Linked DNA regions of Homo sapiens: region 2 is linked to region 1. Evidence: promoter capture Hi-C in human tissues and cell types (Jung and others, 2019). All regions are on one chromosome and are shown on one strand. The core of a region is centred on a gene start or on the middle of the fragment in contact, and the rest is flanking DNA. Distances in the headings are between cores, read along the strand shown. Region 1 holds the start of RNF186 (ring finger protein 186). Region 2 overlaps TMCO4 (transmembrane and coiled-coil domains 4).

Region 1 (5,168 bases), core at 2,669-5,168:
TACATAAATTACTAAGCCTCCTGTGAGCAGGTTGTAGTCAGGGGTGGAGGGCTTAAATAATCCATAATTTCCTCAAGTGTTAACGTCTCCATTTTGTTTTATTTTATTTTATTTACTTTTTTTTAAATACAGAGTGTCACTCTGTCACCCAGGCTGGAGTGCAGTGGCACGATCTTGGCTCACGCAACTGCGACCTCCCAGGCTCAAGCTATCCTCCTGCCTCGGCCTCCCAAGTAGCTGGGGCTACAGGTATGCACCACCAGGCCCAGCTATTTTTTGTATTTTTAGTAGAGATAGGGTTGCACCTCATTGCCCAGGCCGGTCTCGAACTCCTGAGCTCAAGCGATCCACCCACCTCTGCTTCCCAAAGTGCTGGGATTACAGGCTTGAGTCACTGTGCCCGGCCTCCATTTTATCAAATTTTAAAACTGAACTGCAGTGAAGTTAAAATTCTTGCCCAAGGTCACATAGCTGGTAAAGTGACAGGAGCCAGATTTCCAGCTATAGTCAGTGCTGGTGATAGTTAAGGCAAGGCACTTTTGAGAAACAAAGTTGTTCCTAAGCCAAGATGGTAGGAGGAGGACAACAGGAAGGAATGCTCTGTTAACAGTGGTCATTTCTCAGGGGTTGCAGTAAGATGAACTTTCACATTCTACTTTATTTCTGTAATACTTGGGTTGTTCCAGCCAATATGTTTTCTTAACGGTGGTTGCCCAATGATGTTAAAAGGTTATTTTTTAGGCTCTAACCCCAAATAACTTCCCTTGGTCTGATTTCAACCTCACTCAGCTACCTTCTGACAATTTGATTTCCCATTAAGCTGGCTAGAGAGAGAGGCACTGGCCGGCTGGGTGAAGCGGCTCATGCCTGTAATCCTAGCATTTTGGGAGGCTGAGGCAGGTGAATCACCTGAGGTCAGGAGTTTGAGACCGATCTGGCCAACATAGTGAAAGCCCATCTCCACTAAAAATACAATATTAGCCGGGTGTGGTGGCACACGCCTGTAGTCCCAGCTACTCAGGAGGCTGAGACAAGAGAATCGCTTGAGCCCGGGAGGCAGAGGTCGCACTCCAGCCTGGGCAAGACAGAGCGAGACTCTATCTCAAAAAAAAGTGAGAGGGACACTGGCCAAGCCAACATCACTGTGTGGCCCACCTGATTTTCTATTCTTATTATAAATGAATGTGGCTCAACACATTTTTCTCCTCTCATCCCTAATCCATCCTAGGGTCTCACAAACAGAAAATAACATTATGCAATGCAAGTCCAAGCAGAGAAAACACAGAATCTCTTCTAGCATGGTAACACACAGGCATTCGGTCACTCTTGTCCGTGTACAAAGTCTGGTTGTCTCATCAATGCCTGACCCTTTGTCAGAGAGCAAGTAAAGGCTTCTTTTCTTCATCCATTGCTGTGTTACATAGAGGTCTTTCACTTGCAAGGGACAGAAGTTCAATTTGAACTGACTTAAGAATAAAAATCAGGGTAGATTTTATAGGTTAATATCCTTGAAAAAATCCAATGCTAGGTGTCCTGCTTCAGGTGTTCAAATAACATCATCAGGCCTTTGTCTGATTCTTTTCTCATTTTTCTTTTGTGCTGACCTTACTCTTGAGCAGGTTCTCTGCACACTGTGGTCCTGGCAGCCCCAGGGTTCCATCCTCTAACTTAGAAACCCAGCACAAAGAGAAACTTCTCAAGGGCTCCAACAGAAGTCTCAGAATTGAATCTCATTGGCTTGGCTTCGATTATATGCCTACGCTCAAACCAATGGCTGCAGCTAGCAGAGCAGAGCATGCTAACTGGCCTGTCCTGAATTGTATCAGGGCCCCACTTCCAGAGAGCTGGAGCCAGACATCACCCTCTCCGTGAGCACAGAATGACGGTGGGAAGCAGTGGTTGCCCAAAGTGAAAACAGAGAACTGTTACCCAAAAAAGGGGAAAGAATGCTAGGCATGGGGGAAAAAACATGCCTAGATCCAAGGCCACCTTCAGCTTGATCTGGGGGAAAACGTGATATAGATGTGTATCTATACCTTAGTATCTGAGACAGGTCTCAGTTAATTTAGAAAGTTTATTTTGCCAAGGTTGAGGACACATGTCCGTGACACAGCCTCAGGAGGTCCTGATGACATGTGCCCAAGGTGGACAGAGCACAGCTTGGTTTTATACGTTTTAGAGGGACATGAGACATCAATCAACATATGTAAAATGAACATTGGTTCCATCTGAAAAGGTGGAGCAACTTGAAGCAAAGGCAGGAAGACCTGAAGTGGGGAAGGGGCTTCCAGGTCACAGGTGGATAAGAATGGTTACATTCTTTTGAGTTTCTGATTAGCATCTCCAAAGGAGGCAATCAGATATGCATTTGTCTCAGTGAGCAGAGAGGTGACTTTGAATAGAATGGGAGGCAGGCTGGCCCTAAGCAGTTTCCAGCTTGACTTTCCCTTGTGGCTTAGTGATTTTGGGGCCCCACGATTTATTTTCCTTTCACAGAGGTAACTGATGGTCTAGCTACAGGTTGAGAAGAAATGGGATGGGATGGTGAGAGTATTGGATTTCAGAGATAGAGGGCCCAGGGGGAGTGGGGAGGTGGGAGTTACCGATCCCACAAGGGAGGGAGCCCCTTTGGGGCTGGTGACTCCAGGACACAGAGGGTGGCCTGCAGTGCCAGCTACTGGGGTAAGGGAAAGAGCTGAATCAGAGGCACAGGACTCTGTGTGGCCCTTGGCAGGTGACATGAGCACCAAAGGATCCTTCACACGGGCTTCTGAGTTCAGAGTGGCCTGAATGAAACATTTGTTTGAGGGAGTGCACATGCCACCCCGCCATTTGCCCTTGAGGGCAAAGTAAGGAAATCACGTTTTCCTAACTGCTGTGTTACTAATATCTGCCTGTCTCACATGAGTCCTCTTAGCCTACGCCACCCGGCTGGGGCCAGTTGTGTCCAAATGAACCAATGAAATTGATTCAACCAGACCTTGGACGCTGGTAGATTCCACAAGGTCCTGCTCCATGGAAGGCCCCTTGGCAGGCAGCCAGCAGCCTACCCTGACCACACCCTGCCCTTGTTTCCCAGCCTTCCCTACAAGGCTGTATCAGGGTTCCGGGAAATGGGGGCTGGGGACCCCGGGCACAGGGCTTGGCTTAGAGTAGGCCCAAATAAATGGCAGCTGTTCTTAGTACTACTGGATACGCAGCATGCCTAGCACAAAACAGGACACCTGTGATTAGGCATGTGAAGTGTGCAGCAGGGCACCGATGGGAAGTTCATACACCCGTAACTGTGAATACAACAGCTGTGGCTCTAAGGAAATGAATACAGTAGCAGGTGCCAAACACCTGTGCGCTGTATGTGGTTTTGTTTTTCTGCGTTGGGTTGGGCTTTGTCCTCCTTCCACTCACTTTTCTTACCTCTCCCCTCCTCTTTCCAAGGCCACCTGCCTGTAAATGTGCTCCAAGTGCAAACAAACTTTTTTCCACTCATCCTGACATCCAAAAGTTTGTGTCTGAGAAAGCAGTGTCCACCAATCCACCTATGTCCGACTCATAGGGCTGTCTGTTTATTGTGCAGATTTGTAGATGCCAGTGAGCCAAGATCGGGCCACTGCACTCCAACCTGAGAGAACGAGACTCCGTCTCAAAAAAAAAAAAAAAAGTTAAATAAAAAAAATTAATAAAAGGTTCAGGGACCTGGGAAGTGGGGGTGAGAGAGTTGGATTCTGCTGCCTCCTAAAGCTTGAGCCACAGTTCTGTGGGCACCCACCAGGTACCTGGCCCCAACAGGAAAGTCCTGATTCACTAGACCCTTGCCCACTTTGCCCTCCTATCAGGCAATTCAAAGTCTCCAGACCCGCAAGTTACTGATTAACCCTAGGTTTTGAGAAAATAAATAATAATAACTGAAGGGACGACGTAAGCCAAGAAACAAGCTGGGCAGCTCTGGGAGAGAGGAGTGTCAGACAGCTGTTGTCAACAGGCACCTGGCCAGAGTGAAAAGGAGGGGCAGATTCCATCCAAGTCCCAGCGGCGCCAGCTGACACTCTCTGCCAATGCCCAGGTGCTGAGCGACAGTGTCCCACCGGTCCCTGTGCCCAGAATGGCCTGCACCAAGACCCTGCAACAGTCCCAGCCCATCTCCGCAGGAGCCACCACAACCACCACCGCTGTGGCCCCTGCTGGGGGTCATTCTGGCTCCACAGAATGTGACCTGGAGTGTCTGGTGTGCCGGGAGCCCTACAGCTGTCCCCGGTTGCCCAAGCTGCTGGCCTGCCAGCATGCCTTCTGCGCCATCTGCCTGAAGCTCCTGCTGTGCGTGCAGGACAACACCTGGTCCATCACCTGCCCGCTGTGCCGCAAGGTCACCGCCGTCCCCGGGGGCCTCATCTGCAGCCTGCGCGACCATGAGGCGGTGGTGGGGCAGCTGGCCCAGCCATGCACAGAGGTATCGCTCTGTCCTCAGGGGCTGGTGGATCCTGCTGACTTGGCAGCAGGACACCCCAGCTTGGTGGGAGAGGATGGACAGGATGAAGTAAGTGCAAACCACGTGGCAGCCCGGCGCCTGGCCGCGCACCTACTCCTGCTGGCCTTGCTCATTATCCTCATCGGGCCCTTCATCTACCCGGGTGTCTTACGATGGGTGCTCACCTTCATCATCGCCCTGGCCCTGCTGATGTCCACCCTCTTCTGCTGTCTCCCCAGCACCCGGGGCAGCTGCTGGCCCTCCTCCAGGACTCTCTTCTGCAGAGAGCAGAAACACAGCCACATCTCTTCCATTGCCTGAGTGCCCTCTGATGAGGCTATCCCTGCAGCCCTTTCTGCCCTTGGGCCCCCGGACTTCCACAATGAACAGGGTAAGGGGTTACGGACTAAGACTGGCTCCTTTGGGAAATCACATGCCAGCGGGACTTGCAAGCCACAACCGAGATGGCCAGCCTGGGTCAAGAATTACACGCTTGGATGACAGGCTTGCACTTGCCCTTGGGATAGCATAGCTAAAACTGTTGGTGGCTAGGGGAGCAGACACAAACTACTTGAACATGACAAGATGGGGGAAGCTCCTGTTCCTCTTATTCCAATGTTCTTGGTTTTTCTTTATATAACTTGATGAAAGTATTGCAGTATTGATGCCATTGTAGAATAGAACTGGAATTCCATTCTTTTTGCAA
Region 2 (5,048 bases), core at 1,865-4,364, 33 kb after region 1:
TTTTAGGTAAGAATGAGTAGTATAAAAATAGAACAGGGTGCTGAGATAGAAGACAAAGATATTAGGTTGGTGCAAAGTAATTGTGGGTCTTGCTATTAAATTGCAAAAACCACAGTTACTTTTGCACCAACCTAATACTGTAGCCTGGGTGGTCAGGGAAGGTCTCTCAGAGGAGGTGACATCTGGGCTGAGGCCAGATGATGTGATGGTCAGGGAAGGGTGGTCCCAGCAGGGAGAATGGCAGGTGCAAGGGCCTGGAGGGAATGAGCAGAAAGACAGCCAGTGTGGCTGTAGCGTAGTGAACAAGACCGGTGTGGGGACATGAGATGGAGTTCAGTGGCAGGCAGCAACCGGATTGCACAGGACATTTAAGCTTGTCCAATCTTCGGCCTGTGGGCCACATATAGCCCAGGACAGCTTTGAATGCGGCCCAACACAAATTCATAGACTTTCTTAAAACATTATGAGGTTGTCTTGCGAAATTTTTTTTTTTTTTTTTTTTTTTTAGTGCATCAGCTATCATTTAATGTTAGTGTATTTCATGTGTGGCCCAAACCAATTCTTCTTCCAGTGTAGCCCAGGGAAGCCAAAAGATTGGACACCCCTCTTAGGCCATCATACCAAGATTGGAATTTATCCTGATGTGATGGGAGGCTTTTGCAGGCTTTTAAGCAACCTAGTGACATGACTGGTCTATGTGACAAAAAGGTCACTGAGGCCACTATGTAGAGAATGCATTGTAGGGCATCAGGAGAAATTGTGTTGAATGAATGAATGAATTTGGTCTGAGTTTAGCTTTATTATTATTATTATTTTGTTAGATGGAGTCTTGCTCTGTTGTCCAGACTGGAGTGCAGTGGCACAATCTCAGCTCACTGCAACCTCTGCCTCCCAGATTCAGGTGATTCTCCTGCCTCAGCCTCCCGAGTAGCTGGGATTACAGGCACACCCAACCATGCACAGTTAATTTTTGTATTTTTAGTAGAGACGGGGTTTCACTATGTTGGCCAGGCTGGTCTCAAACTCTTGACCTCAAGTGATCCACCCGCCTCGGCCTCCCAAAGTGCTGGGATTACAGGCGTGAGCTACCGCGCCCAGCCTGAGCTTAGCCTTTTGTACTCTAGACACATCCTCATACCTCTGTGGTTAGAAGCAGGCCAGCTTACCCTTCCCTGATCAGAAAGCTGTTTATTATTGAGCTAAGAACTGGCGTGGGGCTTCCCAGATACCAGTTCAGTAAAATACTACCTTGGGCTCCTCTGAGTAATAGGTGCGATCAATATAGCCTCCAAGTGGCACGTGGAGTTGATTAAATGTAGTGGAAATTTCTGACCTGCTGACATCAGGCTAGTGCTGCCCTTGGCACTGCCCTTAGTTCATGGTTTATGCTGTTGCCCCTGTTCCCACCACCATGGTCTGAGCTGACCCTCTGAGCCAGGGAAATTTGCTGCAAATCTCAAACGTGGGTTCCTAGAGCAACCATTGAGGCCAGTCTTGCTGGGTGACTTTGGGCGAGGTCTTAACCTCTCTGGGCCTCCGTTTCTCCATCTGAAACAGGGGAAATAAGATCCCTGTGCTGGTGTAGAGGAAAGAGCTCAAGGTTTGGAGTCAAAAGTCTGGTTTGGATCTCATCACTTACTGTGTAAGTTTGGGAAAATTGCTTGGTCTTTCTGAGCCTGTTCCTCGGTTGTAAGAGGGAATCGTAATGGTTCATGTCCTACTTAACTTTACATGGTAGTTATAAGAATTAAGCAGACTGGAAAATGCTTTGTAAACAGTTATGTGCTGTAAAAGTGTTGGTTTGTTGCTTTGAACTACCTCAGGGTTGTTTTGAAAACAAATGAAATATTAGTTGTGGACAGACTTTTAAATAACTCCTCTACAGAAGTAATATTTTGAGAACAAAAATTTTTATTGCTCAGCTAGATGGGAACAAACTTATGAACAAATAACTGTTTGGAGTGTGGTTATTAGACTAGAAGACTCCTGGCCATGTGATGAATATTTAAAACAGAGTTGGTGGCCAACAGTTCTGTCTTTGGGCCCTATATGTCTGCCATTGACTGGCTGTATCAGGGGAGCCCAGTTACTTCTCTGAGCCTGTTTCCTAATTTGCAAACTGAACATTACAGTCCTACTTGCCTCTAGAGTCTGCTGAGACAATGCATGTTAAAATTGCAACCCCAGTGCCCTACACCCAGTAATAACTCAGTAATGTTAGGTCTTGTTATTATTAAACCTTTGCTATGTGCCAGGCACCATGCCAAGCATTTTACTTATTTGTTTGTTGATCATTTTGTGCCTTTATTTTTTAAACAAGCATTTATATAGCATGAACCCTGTGCCAGGCTCTATTCTAGGTGCTTTACGAGTACTAAGCCACATGGGCTGTGTCCTTTACTACTGACACAGCTCTTCTAGGTAGATACTGTATGGTCCCATCTGTAGGTGAAGAAATCTAAGTACAGAGAGGTTGAGTTGCCTAGGGTCCCATATCTAATAAGTGGCGGTGCTTGTTTTCACGCCCAGGTCTGTCTGGTCCTGAGCCTGCATTCATATCCTTGATCCCCTGTAGTAGAGGCTGGCACCCTTCCCTGTACCCTTCCTGGTGGCTCCCAGGGTTCTTTCTGCTTCTTGGATGCCTTCTTGGCGTGTCCCCTCTCTCCTTTTCTCTCCCTCCTCTTCCTACTCTTCTCCTCCCTTTCCCTTTTCCCCCTGGGAAGGAAGGAAAGAATAGAGGGAAGGAAAAGAAGGAGGGAGAACAAAGAGGAGACCTTCCTCCCTTTTTTTCCTTCTTCCTTCCTTCCTTTGAGGTATACCATACACAAAGTGCATAAATATTAACTATACAGTTCAGGGAATTTTTAAATATATTTATACCCATATGATGACCACCCAGGTCAAGATAGAGATCATTTCCTTCACCCAGAAACCTCCTTTGTACCCATTCTGAGCCAATACTCCCTCCCACATGTAACCCCTCATCTGACTTCCATCACCATACATTGGGTTTAGCATTTTTCAGTTTCATATAAAGGGAATCCCATGGTAGGTACTCTCTCGTGAATGGCTTTCTGTGTATCATTTTGTCTGAGATTCATTCATGTTTGCTGTAGTTCATTCCCTTTCCATTGCTGTGTAATGTTTCACAGTATGAATATGACCATTTATCCATTCTACTGTGATAGACGTGTGGGTTGTTGCCAGTTTGGGACTATTGTGAATGAAGTTGCTGTGAGCATTCATGTATGTGTCTTTTCGTGACTTAAGTCCTCATTTCTCAGGAGTGGAATTGCCAGAGCATAGGGAAGACATATGTTTAGCTTTAGTGGATATTGTCAAACCATTTTCCAAATAGTTATACCAATGTACACTCCCACCAGCAGTGTATGAAAGTTCTGTTTGCAGCCAGGCGTGGTGGCTCATGCCTGTAATCCCAGCACTTTGGGAGGCCAAGGCGGGCGGATCACGAGGTCAGGAGATGGAGACCATCCTGGCTAACACAGTGAAACCCCGTCTCTACTAAAAATACAAAAAGTTAGCCAGGTGTGGTAGTGGGCGCCTGTAGTCCCAGCTACGCGGGAGGCTGAGGCAGGAGAATGATGTGAACCCAGGAGGCGGAGCTTGCAGTGAGCCAAGATCGTGCCACTGCACTCCAGCCTGGGCGACAGAGCGAGACTCCATCTCAAAAGAAAAAAAAAAAAAAAAAAGAAAGTTCTGTTTGCTCTTCATCCTCACCAGCACTTGGTATTCTCAGTCTTTTTAGTTTTAGCTATTCTGATAGGTGAGAGTTAGTGTCTCATTGGGATTTTAATTTCCATTTCTCTGATGACTAACGATGTTGAACATCTTTTCATACTTATTGGCTATTGGGTTTTTTTTTTTTTTAAGAGACAGGGTTTCATTCTCTAGCCCACGCTGGAGTGCAATGATCATAGCTCATTGCAGCCTTAAACTCCTAGGCTTAAGCAATCCTCTCACCTTAGCTTCCTAAGTAGCTGGAACTACAGGCGTGTGCCACCATGCCCAGCTAATTATTTTATTTTATTTTTCTGTAGAGATGGAGTCTCACTATGTTGCCCAGGCTGGTCTTGAACTCCTGGGCTCAATCAGTCCTCCTACCTCGGCTTCCAAAAGTGCTGGGATTAGAGGCATGAGCCACCATACCTGGCCTGAGGAATATCTTTTTTTTTTTTTTTTTTTTTTTGAGATGGAGTCTCGCTCTGTCAGCCAGGCTGGAGTGCCGTGGCGCGATCTCGGCTCACTGTGGAATCTCTTTTATGAAGTATCTATTCAAGTCTTTTGCCCATTTTTAAATTTGCTTCGTTTCTTTTTCTTAATGACTTACTGGAGTTAGTTGTTTGGATACTGTGTATAGACCTTTGTGGATAGACATATTGAAGATCCCTCCCTCCATCCTGGTCTGTAGTGTGTGTTCTCACTCTCCTAAAGGTGATGAAAAGAAGTTCTTCATTTTAATGATGCCTACTTTATCAACCTTTTATGGTTTGTAAGTTCTGTGTCATGCTTAAGTAACCTTGGCTTACCTCTGGAAGCATTTCTCACTGGGAATTTTCTCCTGCAGCGCTGGGAATGGCCATGTGGAACAGGCCATGCCAGAGGCTGCCTCAGCAGCCTCTGGTAGCTGAGCCCACTGCAGAGGGGGAGCCACACCTGCCCACGGGCCGGGAGCTGACTGAGGCCAACCGCTTCGCCTATGCTGCCCTCTGTGGCATCTCCCTGTCCCAGTTATTTCCTGAACCCGAACACAGGTGAGTTCTTCTGTCTTGCAGTGGGAAGGTCATGCTTCTTCAGGGGAACAACTACGGACAGCCAAACAGCCTGCCAGGCACGATGAGGCAATGCAGAGAGGGGCAAGTCATTGTCCTTGCCTCTAACGCAGGGGTCTCTAACCTCCAGGCCGTGGACCAGTACTGGTCTGTAGCCTGTTAGGAACCTGGCCGCACAGCAGGAGGTGAGTGGTGGGTGAATGAGAATTACTGCCTGACCTCTGCCTCCTGTTCTAAGCATTTTATGAATACTAAGCC

What was found. The method cuts DNA at HindIII sites, captures the fragments that hold promoters and counts their contacts. A contact is called where the count stands out against the background at its distance.
Region 2: a contact is called between a fragment that was not itself captured here and the fragment with the promoter of RNF186 in region 1, in 1 of the 25 tissues and cell types used here (pancreas).

The regions. Positions count from the first base shown.
Region 1 is chr1:19,814,033-19,819,200 of GRCh38, reverse strand. RNF186 (ring finger protein 186) reads left to right here and starts at 3,918. Exons shown (of 1, transcript NM_019062.2): 1 at 3,918-5,168. The coding sequence starts at 4,100. The coding sequence ends at 4,783. It overlaps RNF186-AS1 (RNF186 antisense RNA 1), which reads right to left and starts at 4,792. Exons shown (of 2, transcript NR_186008.1): 1 at 4,648-4,792. RefSeq lists an enhancer at 1,926-2,457. The HindIII fragment of the contact is 3,016 bases long and covers 1,700-4,715 here.
Region 2 is chr1:19,780,304-19,785,351 of GRCh38, reverse strand. TMCO4 (transmembrane and coiled-coil domains 4) reads left to right here. Exons shown (of 16, transcript NM_181719.7): 4 at 4,586-4,772. The coding sequence starts at 4,594. Among named protein-coding and RNA genes, the nearest start is that of TMCO4, 17 kb to the left of the region's middle. RefSeq lists an enhancer at 4,731-5,048. The HindIII fragment of the contact is 8,610 bases long and covers 1-5,048 here.